Regions from separate parts of the Homo sapiens genome. Here all the other regions are linked to region 3. Evidence: promoter capture Hi-C in 16 types of primary human blood cells and fetal thymus (Javierre and others, 2016). All regions are on one chromosome and are shown on one strand. The core of a region is centred on a gene start or on the middle of the fragment in contact, and the rest is flanking DNA. Distances in the headings are between cores, read along the strand shown. Region 1 overlaps COL19A1 (collagen type XIX alpha 1 chain). Region 2 overlaps COL19A1 (collagen type XIX alpha 1 chain). Region 3 holds the start of COL19A1 (collagen type XIX alpha 1 chain).

What was found. The method cuts DNA at HindIII sites, captures the fragments that hold promoters and counts their contacts. A CHiCAGO score of 5 or more calls a contact.
Region 1: a fragment that was not itself captured here is called in contact with the fragment with the promoter of COL19A1 in region 3 in 2 of 17 cell types (naive B cells and total B cells); the score reaches 5.8 in naive B cells.
Region 2: a contact is called between a fragment that was not itself captured here and the fragment with the promoter of COL19A1 in region 3, in 1 of 17 cell types (total B cells). The highest score is 5.5, in total B cells.

What each region holds. Positions count from the first base shown.
Region 1 is chr6:70,166,432-70,170,157 of GRCh38, reverse strand. COL19A1 (collagen type XIX alpha 1 chain) reads right to left here. Exons shown (of 51, transcript NM_001858.6): 38 at 2,083-2,133; 39 at 1,943-1,987; 40 at 1,477-1,503. Among named protein-coding and RNA genes, the nearest start is that of COL9A1, 130 kb to the left of the region's middle. The HindIII fragment of the contact is 5,357 bases long and covers 1-3,726 here.
Region 2 is chr6:70,137,033-70,141,133 of GRCh38, reverse strand. It overlaps COL19A1 (collagen type XIX alpha 1 chain), which reads right to left. Exons shown (of 51, transcript NM_001858.6): 19 at 3,387-3,449; 20 at 145-180. Among named protein-coding and RNA genes, the nearest start is that of COL9A1, 160 kb to the left of the region's middle. The HindIII fragment of the contact is 4,720 bases long and covers 465-4,101 here.
Region 3 is chr6:69,864,748-69,868,497 of GRCh38, reverse strand. It overlaps COL19A1 (collagen type XIX alpha 1 chain), which reads right to left and starts at 1,942. Exons shown (of 51, transcript NM_001858.6): 1 at 1,858-1,942. RefSeq lists silencers at 905-974, 985-1,034, 1,255-1,304. The HindIII fragment of the contact is 9,714 bases long and covers 1-2,844 here.

The sequences.
Region 1 (3,726 bases), core at 538-3,037, 300 kb before region 3:
TCATTTCATGATTGCATTTTTCTGTTTCTGTGCTTCACTCACTCAATTCACATCTCTAAAAGCAAGGAACACACTTCAATCAGTTTTTATTCTTCATCCTTTGTTGTAGCTAAGAAATTTGAAGACTAATCTCTTCAAATTCTACTCAAATAGGTCTACATTTTTGTTGCCAGCCCCTTTTCAATGCCAGTAAATTATAATTTATCCTTTATTATAATACTTAAAAAGTTCTTATCTTAATCTGCAGTTATTAATGCAAGAACTTCAAAGAATGTTCCCAAAAAGTCAGTGAGAAGCCTAGGTGCTTTTAAATGATTCAGAGAAGCTGTTTTGTGTGTATGAGTATGAGAGGGAAAGACCAGGAGGAAATTTTTATCAACAAGATGTAAGAAAATTAAAATTAGAATGAAGCGTATAGTTGGTTTCAGGTAAAGATAGGGTAGACAGGGTGAATGAATAGTAAAACAAAGGAAACTGAATTACAGAATATGATCCTAACTAGTTGAAACAATGCTTTCAGGGGATAACAATTTGGCTTTTAATATATATTGCCCAATAACAAAATCAAACAGCTCTTTAATGCATCTCTTTAAAATATGTTTTTAGACATAAAAACATTACTTGTTATGACTTGTCCCTTTGCTGGTTTAAAATTTATTCATTGAGTTTTAACAAACTGTACTATAATGAAAAGGCTTTAAATTTTTTTTCACATGGCAATGGAAAGTGTTTTGAAAATTTATTTCAGCTTTAGGTACATTTGAGTTTCAAGTATATACCCAAAGGTTAAAATATATACAAATGAAACATGAAGGATATGCTTGAAAAAGACATGACAGGAGAAAATGCCCAGCAATAAAGGGCATCTAATTGAATTTGGCAGAACTTTTACAGAGGCTCCATGGTTCAGAAAGATGCTGAGAACAATTATCGTCCTTTAGGCGGCTGGAGGACATGATCTCCTTCCATGCTGAGCATAACCTCCTGATACATTCCTCCTAATAAGCAGCCTTATGACAAAACATATCTCCTGCAAAATAATTGCCTAAGACGTTTAAAGCAAATAAACAGTTCCTTTTTTTTTGTTGGGGAGATGGCAGATATATTAAGGGATTTCTTTCCAGTAAGTATTTCTCTTCCACAATCTACTTAAAATTGAATCAATTATCAGAAGAGGGCTATTAGAAGAAAGTGCCCCATTTATCAGAGTTTATATGTGTCTTCCTCCATCACAGGATGATTTTAAAAACACACTGACGGAAAGAGACAAACCTCAAGGGCAGTGACAACATCAGGACTAATGCATCTCAGAAACAGAGAACATATTGCTGGCATTTATATTGTGGCCTGCTTGTCACCACCAGCATGTTAATTGATGAACACCTAAGAAGGCAGGCCATTTTGCCCGATGCTTTTCTTTCAAAATTTAACAAAGACCAATATTCTAAATGACACAAAACATGGGAACATTCATACCACTGGGCCAGGATCGCCTTTTGGGCCCTGTAAGAGAAACATGGAAAGTCATTTTTCAAATAATGACCAAAGCAGTTACAGAATAAGAAACACTGTTGTCCAATTTGCCTTAATACACATACGAATATTAGCAAGTTTTGCTTTAATTACAGTTTGAATTTGAAGAATAAGATGAATAAATATAACTTGATGGAAATTTCATAAAAATGATTGCTTGGACATTGACTTAGTTCTTAGATTTGCAATGAAAAAAGTGACACCACCATGAAAAATGCTGTTTTCCATTATTTTGGCTGCATACATTTTCTCAATTTTATTATAATTGGTTTTACTTATTTCCTTCTGCTGTAAAATTTGGCTGTATTCATAACATGCGTTTTTCAGTGAACTTAAGAGGTTTTTATTGTTTGTTTTTCATTGTGGTTGTTCAGCTAAAGTGTGTTTGATGATAAACAACTGTACTTACAGGAGGACCGGGTGGCCCTGGGTAACTGGGAACATTCACACCTCCCTTCAAAAGAAAATGAAAAGAAAAGAAAAAGAGAAAGATGAGACGAATTTACAGCAGTCTATAACTGGATTTTAAATAATTACAAATATAAATACCTTAATTTTATATAAACTGCTCATGCCGTTTCGTTCATTAAATGGAATACCCTTAGGAAAGAGGTGAGATACAGAATTATTCTTGGAAGTTAATACTTTGCATCTCTACATTTTATCATTTTACCAAATGATACTATTCCTATTCTATTTTTTACTTTTTTCTATTCTATTTTACAAAGGGAATTTAATACTCTAAGTAAAATAATACATTTTAATTTTTAGCTTTTCCAAAGCAAATGCAGGGAAATGAAAAGGGAGTGTGAGCTACACCTGAAGCACACGGATACTTTCAGTTGGGGTTTAATTAATGTTCAGGTTTGACAGATGAGACACTAATGCATTTGGAGGAAAATATTTGCTCATTAAAATTCAGTTTCTGAATTGTCAATTTATACTAACTGTTTACAGCCTGCTAACCTGCAGGCTATAATGCCATAGTGCTGATGAAGATGTGAATAGGGAACAATTTGGCTACTGAAAAGTAATTTTTTTCCACAGTCTTTTCATACCAAATAGAAAATTAAGGTAAATGGGGAGATGACATTATCCACAACCCTGTGTGGATGTTTCTACAAAAATAAATTCTTTAGGATAAAAGAGAATAAGAACATCTTGAAAAAAATTGACATGTCCTAGAGTAACCAACACTTAAAGGAGAACTTATTCTATAGTTTAAAAAAATCATACATTTTAGCATTTAGGAAAAATTTCCATATAAAAATTTTAGTTAGAATCTTTTGTCTTTCTTTTTAAACATTTGTATAGAATCAATAGTCAAATCTGCCTTTTCCTTTCTGCAGTTTTCACATATCAGTTGCAGAGTTGAAGAAGTCACTGTTTCATTGTTTCTGTATGATGGTGGCCAGTAGTGTTCTGTGAAGACAATTTGCATGCATCTTCCAAACACTAGTGATGGAAGACAAACGCTCCATCCATTTATTACTCTATTATTTAACTCATTTATCTGACAGCGACTGAATGTCTGCCATATTTTAGTGTGCTACGTCCTGGAGAGACAAAGGATATTTTCATCTGAGATTTCCAAAGGAGGTTTCCCAGGGAAGAAAACATTTAAACTGTGTTTTGAAGGATGGATGGTTTTGGAGAATTCAGAGGGAAGACAAAGACATCTTAAGTGCATTATAAAATTATAGGTCCCTTTCATGAACTCATGTTATATTTGCTGTTCTGCCCACGGGGGAAGGAGTGAATTTTAGGATTTGAACCCTAATACTTTCCGTCCTGCTTTCTTGTCAAGGGAAAAGGTCAGTAACACAGATGAACAGATTTAGGAAACAAGTTTAGGAAATAGAGTGCTAATCTCTTCATTTACGTGTACAAAGCATGCAACTGCACGCAGACTGATAATAATCCTCATTGTCTTCGGAAAGTCACGGTCAATTCTGCCCTTTCTATGGTGAGTTTGGTTTCTTAAAGTATTCCTGTGAGGTGGGGTAGAAAAGGGTGTTTTGCGTGATATCTCAGCTCGGCTCGGCTGCGATTCGAGCGTGGCCCCACATGAGGGCAGACTTGCCACGGAGAGAGGCTCCTCTCCTCTCCACCGTTTCCCTGACGGAGCGTGCATCTGTCTCAATCACAATAATGAAAACATCGATGCCTCTTGTACTTTTTGTTCACTAAGAG
Region 2 (4,101 bases), core at 1,575-4,074, 270 kb before region 3:
TAAAAATCACAGAGGAAAAAGTAAAATGCTCATGGACCTTATTTAATCAAATCTATTAGACTCCAAAGTAAACATACCAGAAAATCAGAGAGAAACAAATCAATGAAGTAGAAAACCCAAGGTAGTGATAAAATATCTACTTACTCTATCTCCTTTTTCTCCTTTTGTAAAAGGCTCTCCCTAAGGAGAAGGGGTAGAAAATAGAATTAAACGCTCTTAGAAATAAACTCTCCAAACCGGGGTGTGGATAAACCCTATAGGCCAAACTCAGATTCCCATTGCAAACAGACCTCCAAAAATACCCAGAGTGTCACACAGTCTGTCTTTGCAGCTTAAAGGAAATATATGATAATTAATTTAAAAACTCCTTTATATTCCCAAATGAACAATGAGTTAATCATTCTAACATCATTTATAAAATCCCAAGTGGCTGACAAATTGGAATGCTGCCCAAGGCCAAAGCTTCCTATTGCCTAGTCCACATAGAAAACGATCACACACACACATCCAATTGAATGTGAAATGGGAATGACAGCAAGAAATTGATAAAAACGTTGAAGGGAAAGACATTCACTTGAATTCTTCCAGTTGGTTAATTGTGTGCTTAAATATACAAACTCATTATTTTAAAAATAGTTTCCTAGTTTTTATTTTTACTTTAATGAAAATGACTTGAAGAGGTTAACCATATCTGTAAGTTCTGTGTCCATGGATTCAAGCAATTGTGGATAAAAAATATTTGAAAAAGAAAAACAATAAAAAATAATACAGCAATAAAAATTATACAAATTTTAAAAATAATACAGTATAACAACTATTTACATAGCACTTACATTGTAATATATATTATAAGTAATCTGGAAATGATTTGAAGTATACAGGAGAATGCATAGGTGATATGCAAATAAAAATAGGCCATTTTATATTAGGGACTTGAGCATCCTCAGATTTTGGTATCCTCTGAGAGTCCTGGAACCCATCCCCCACAGATACCAAGGGACAACTATATACCCATATCTACCCAACATGATGAACTATCTTAATAGTGGTTGATTTCTATATATTAGATCAAGGCTTTATTTATATTCTTATTTCCCTGCTTGTTTTTGCTTATATGACACTGCTCATGTCATTGCTTATTTACAGCCACTGTAAAGTTTAGTGGCCACATTGACTAAAGTAACTGGTTATAAAAGAAAAAAAAAAAAAGAGAAAAACCCGGGAGCCTAGTTGTCTAGATACTTGATATTTAGTCCTGGCTCCAATGGCTACTATTTGAGGCAAGTCACTTAATCTTTTAGAGCTCCCCTTTCTTTATCTATAAAATCATGGGGTTCAACTAGGTGATCTTAAGTATATTTTAGCTCTGATGTGTTACACATCAAACCATATTCTGAATGTCCTATGGTGGGGGAAAATTTGCCATTTTAGTTACCATTCGGGATCAGTGGTTCAGAATTTACCTTTGAATGAATACTACTCTTCTGTTTGGGCCTTCTGATTATTATGCAAAGTAAAGTCTACATCCTGTTCTGGAAGAGAAAGTTTGAGACCATAAAAAGCTAAACTGCTCTCCGTAATAATGTAAAATTTGCGTTGTTTTAATGTAGGGGTAGAGGAAGGTGGCAAGTAAAGATGTATGGGGTGGTGGGATAATTAAGGGATGAATAGGGACCTGGTATGGAGAAGAGTTAGGAGGAAAAGAAGCTCTATTTAAGGAAAACAGGGCTAAAGGCAGTCCTCATGAGATACATGGACTGCCCTTGAAAGTTAGCCAGAAAGAAAGCCAGAGGAAATCCCTGCAGGAGGAAAAGGCCTATGACTCCTAGGAACTATGAACTCCTTCAACCCTTGCTGCTTAAAGTGTGGTCCATGGACCAATAACACCAGCATTACTGAGAGCTTATGAGAAACACAGACTCTCTGGTCCTGCTTCCAAACCTACTGACTTAGAATCAGTGGGATTCAAGTGCATGTTCACATTTGAGAAGCACCGCTCTAACTCACTGAAAGTTTCTCCTTTCTGCTCTAAAAATCCTCGATTTTCCAGTAAAATTTTTATTAATCTTACTGCAGGGTCCTCCATGCATCATGTGGAAATTAAGAGAAGGTTGGTGTCAGTGTTCAGGTTTGGAGGGAAGACAGTGGAGACCTAGAGAAGCAGCTAAGAGATGGTAAGAGGAACCTCCAAGTGTGGAGCACCTAGAGAGTTGGCAGGTACCAGGGGCATGCACCAGGCTGGATTTCTGAGACATGAGATTTTCCAGACATTATTGCAAATACTCAGTTGGAGAACCTCATTAAAGACTGCCAAATCCTGTAGTTGTGTAAGAAGGCTTGAACTGAATACTAAGGGCAAGCACGACTCCTGAAGGTAGAAGAACTGGGGTACATAGGCCACAGACTGATTCTAAAGCTGCAAAAATTACTGTCATTGTTAATTTTTTAAAGCTGAAGCATAGGGAAAATTTGGCTTTGTAACACTGAATACTTTAAATAATGTTCCTGTTTGTCATGCAGGCAATTTAGTGACCTCTTCATGTTTTATCCCCTGATAAACCAATATCCTTTATTCAGTCTCGTAAAGAAAGGGGTAGAGTGGTTTAATAAGATGTATTACTTTTCTTTAAACAAAGATGAAACATTTGTTAAGCCTGATTCTCACTGATTCTTGAAAACTGCTTTTTTAAAAGAAGCATTAAAACAAGTCATTTTTTGTACCTATGATTTCTCTAATCACTTTAGGTGGTCCTATTTGAATATAAATGATACTGTAGGGTTTTTCTCTTTTTCCCCACAAAAAGAACTACATTTTGAAAGAAACTGGCCACAGTAATACCAAAAAGTGGTTGGGAAGCCACTTTGATCATACAAAAATCAAGAAAGAAAAATAACTTCAGAAGGTACACTGAGAACAGTTGTTTGAGCAGAAAGATGTGTTTCCAATTTCTTTTGGATAAATTTGTACTAGTCTTTTGATACATTGATTTTATTATTTTAGCTGCAGTGTTTAGTTATACCAGAGGAGCTTTGTGATTTTAAACTTTAGGTTCTAGAATCAACTCACCTAGGTGTGATTCACAGCTCCAATGCTTAGTACTGTGTGACTTTGGGCAAAGTTTTTTAACCTCTTTATGCCTTACTTTCATCATTTGAAGTATGCAGGTGATAATAGATGACCTTATGGAAACTTTTTATGGATTAAGTGTGTAAATACATGTAAGAGACTTAGTGCATAGCGTAGCTAGTACTTGCTTGAAGATCTGATCTGTTGTTTCCCATGACAGGATCAACCAAGGCACGTGGAATTGGGGCTGATTTGGAAACGTATTTTTAATCCCGTTTTTTAGATATTCTTCCTCTGTCCTCAAAGCTAAAATACTTACAGGTTCTCCTTTTTGTCCTTTAGGGCCAACAGACCCTGGAAATCCTGGTAGTCCAGTTTCACCCTTTCAAGACAAAGCAGAAGAGAGATTTTGCAGATGGTTAGAGAAGCATTATTGTGACTGTCAGATACAGAATGATTGCTTGCTCTCCTGCTAACTATACAATTTATCTATTAGCATCCAACAGACAATGCAAAGTTCTGAATCTACTTAGGCTATTTTTATGATAATGTGTTTGTCAGTACTTCACAATGGCTTTATGTCTTTTAGAAATCCATATATTTCATTATGATACTTAAATGTAATGTGAAACAAAGTTAATTATTTTTCCAGGAAAGAATATCTATCTAGAGGAGAAAAATTATAATTTTGTTCTGGTGTGCCAAAACCAATTTTTTTTGTGTGTGATCTCAAAGACATCAGACTGTTTAACTGGCACAATAATCCAGACTCATTTTATTTCAGGCACTTTTTTCTTTGTTTAGGTGGGCAGAGTCAGCAGTTATATGAAGCAAAACGAGTCTCTCAGCTGTTTCCAGGGTTTATAATGCTACTTAGATGATTGGCTGTGGGCAAATAAGGCATTCTTGTAGATGTGGTGACAGCAGTAGCTTAGAAATGTCTAAGAGGTTCTGGTCAAAAACCTTGAAGAGAGATCTGTATGTGACATATAAAGAGTGTTTTTGGAAAATATAATTTGAGAAGTAATACTTAA
Region 3 (3,750 bases), core at 693-3,192:
TACTTTCTCCACTTTCTATCCCCTAGAGAGAGCATAAATTTTCTGCCTCTGGGGGTCACCCTCCTCTTTTTCATCCTGAAGAGATATTCCTACACAAAAACCCTGTCAGCCCTCCTCAGGAAGGGGCATTTATGCATGTTTTTCACCACTGGAATACCTAAATATCTCAGCTTTGCAGGCCCATATCAAAGATCTCTCTACTTAGAGAGGGTCCTGCAAGTTTCCCACCACTCAAAAACAAGGAGATGCCAAGACCCCACATACGAGCAGGGGCTCTTTTCTTTCTTTTTTTTTTTTCCCTTTAGTCTCCTAAAGAATTATAGCAGTGTTTGATTCGGGCAGAGGGGGAGGCATTGGTGTTCTCTCCTTTTTGGGGAGGGGTGGTGGTTGAAAATAGATACTGGTGTGCGTTTGTTTCATCTCCTCCATTAACAGGCAGATGTAAATTCCCCTACAGCAGAGTGATTATCCTCACATCTTAATCCTCCTCAGACTTATCCAAGCAGAAGATGGGACTGAGTCGTCTTGGAATTGGGGATTGAGGGAGGTGGCGCAATTTATTTCCCTTACTCTTCCATCTCCCAATCTCAAGCTGTGGCCGATGATCACTCTCTTGCCTCTATTCACGGATTGTTCTATTAAAACTACTTATTATCAGCATTCTGGGCCCTCCTCTTTTTGCTCTCCAGCCCACTGTCCCCTGAGGCTGACAAGGCACGCTGGTCCCCTCTGCCTCTTCACCTTCTCATCAAATGAAGCTCCTCGGGGGCTCCTGTGGCACCCGCCTGTCCCCCAGCTCCTCTGCCCACCCTCTTGCCGGCTTCCCGCTCCCTCCGTAACCTCTAAGGGGGTTCGCTTACGCGCCCGCCTGCTCTCGGGGAGCTAGCGTGCCCGACGGCGTGCTTGGTTCCGGGCCAACAAACTTCCTCGCGACCCTGCAGCGCCCTAGCTGGGCCGCCCGGCGCCGCCTCCTGGTTCTCGGCCGCTGTGGCTGCGGCGCCGGCGCGCTCTCGGCGGTGGCCTCGGGACTCTGACAGCGGAGGCGGCAGAGGCTGGGGCCGCGTCTTCCTCGCGCCGCGACTGGGACGTTCCGGCGGCGGCGGCGGTGGCTGCAGGGAGGACTGCGGGGACGGCGGCGGCGCTGTGGCCGACCGCGCTGCGCATGCTGCAGGGTAATTAAGGAACAGGGCCGGACGCTCCGGAACGTGGTGGGGCTGGAGTCCGGGAATCCCCGCCCGCGCCCGCGCCGCCCCCCAGAAGCCGCACTTGGGAAAAACACCCACATGTGGAGTAGGTAACCCCGGGCCGGAGGGCACCGCACCGGAACCCCGCGTCTCTTAGCTTACGCCGCTTAACTGGCTGCCTCGCTTCCAGGGCTAACACCGTCAAAAAAAAAAAAAAAAAGCGCTCTAACGGCATGAATTGATAGTGAGTTTGTTTTACTCCTTTAACCCCCCATTTTTTTTGTAATGTATTTGATGTCTGTCCCTACCCGCATCAGCAGTGCTCCATAGTTCCGCTTCACAGACACACATAGCCAGAAAAACCACCTAGAACTTAGGTGTAACGCATGAAGCCTGCATCATGTGAACATAGGAACACGAACTACATGGTATGTACCACATGAGAGTGGCCGTCTCCTGCCAAACGTTTTTGGTCCCATCCTTAAGGCCCCTATGGAAACGTATGCAGGTGTGCATTATTTATCCACCTAAACATATTTCCATGTGTAGCACAGTTTTTACATTTTCTTGAAAAGCAGATGCACACAGATAACTAGGAACACGAGCAGATGACATAGCCCGGGCATGTGTGAGAGGGCAAGTGCAGAGCCGGTCGCAAAGCCGCGCAGCTTACCTTGAATTCGTATTTGAGCCCCTCAGAGGCGCAGTGGAGTCCGGACAGGGCTGCGGCACCGCCGAGGAGTGAGCTCCCTGCGAGTGGGGAAGGGGGACGCATCTCTGCCCTTATTAGTCTCTCCCAGTGTGACCCTCCCACTCCGCGAGGACAGAGGACTCTGCAAGAAGGTACTCAGCCAACTCAGGCACAGGTTTTCTTTAATGACAGCGATGTCGCCTTAGAGCTGGGAGTAATGCCTTTCAGGTTTATGTTTTACTAGCAGTTTCACAGATAAAATGACGGTTGGATGCAAATGCCTAGAGTTTCTCACTTCTGATCATGAAGTGTCTTCAAAGTATTATTGTATGTGGCAAACGTTCACGAGTAGGTAATTGGCTTTTTAACGGTTGAGCTAAGAAAATATATCATTTATGTTTCATTTTTTCACTTTTATGTCAAGAGTTTATATAAAGTTGATTAAGGCAGTCTGCCCACCTTCTAATCACGCTCATATGTAAACGTTTGTGTGGCTTGGTTTTTCTCAGTGTCCACAGAAGTATTTTGTGATTTTAAATACATCTTTCCATGGGTTGGTGCTTCCAATCTTGGCTTTTGAACTCTTTTGGGATCCCTTTGAATATGTGAAAGTGTCATTTTCCTGCAGATTTCTGTGTAGGTGCATGTATGTGTGTGTAGAGAGAGTATATATATATTTGTAGGCATATATAGTAGGTTTATATACATATATAGGAGGTATATATGGATACTTGTAGGCATATATATTTGTAGGTATATATACATATATAGTAAATTTATATGTATACATATAGTGTATGCATATGTATGTGTATATATGAAAAACAGAATGATTTATAGAATTCAGAAGAGTAAACCAGGCATTAGAAAACAGATAAACTGGTTTTACATTTTTATTTCAGTATTGCCACAGTGGGAGAAATAGGATAAATTATATTATTGATCCACAATGGTGAAAATCATCAAGCTTAAAAGTTACCTTAGAACCATAGAAATACACTTCACATATCAGAGCTCACAGATCAAGGAATAAATAAAATCAGGCAGGCAAAAAATAAAGATGTTAAGAAAAATGTTAAAAGATAGCTCCTTTCCACTTCATTGGAGTGAAACCATTAAAGTATCACTTGTGATTTTTAAACTTCTCTCTCAACCTAATCAAGATACCTGCAGTTTTAGAGTTCGGCATTCATGGTGATGCAAACCATGTTTCTATGTCAGGATTTAAAACCACTTGATACATTTCCTTCTCATATGATTTTCATCACTAATTTTTGGCTGACTGTGGAAAGAGGCCAAGGAGGGAGGATATTGCATGAGTCACGCTACTCAAATGGCCATTTGAAAAACATGATTCACAAACCTTCATTAGACTTTTGGTGATCAGTCTCTATTTTTTTGAAGTATTATCCCATTTGATTTTTTTCTTTCTCTAAGCAATTTTACTTTATATACCTTGCCATCACTAATGAATTGAACTAAGAGCATCCAGGCTTTATTTCTTTGTCAGACTATTAAATTCACCTTATTTACACTTAATTGAAACTATTTAAAGTAATGCTTTAAAACTACCTAAAAGGAAGTCCACAATTTTGTCTCTAATTTTTGTTTTAATACAAGTAAATCAAGTTTATCTTAGAATTATTTTCTTAAACATTTTAATAATTTCATAATTGTTAAGATATTTGAGAGAGCTAAACACTTATATTTTTGTTTATATTTCAAAATGGCCCTTTTCTTATTTCTAATATTGACCCAAGCAAGATTTTGGAAGAAAGTGAAAAATGAATAAATAAAACTTCAAATTATTATTATCTGTTGCTTATTCTGTTTCTAGATACACCAACATCCCCAGGGCAACAAATATTTCTCTAT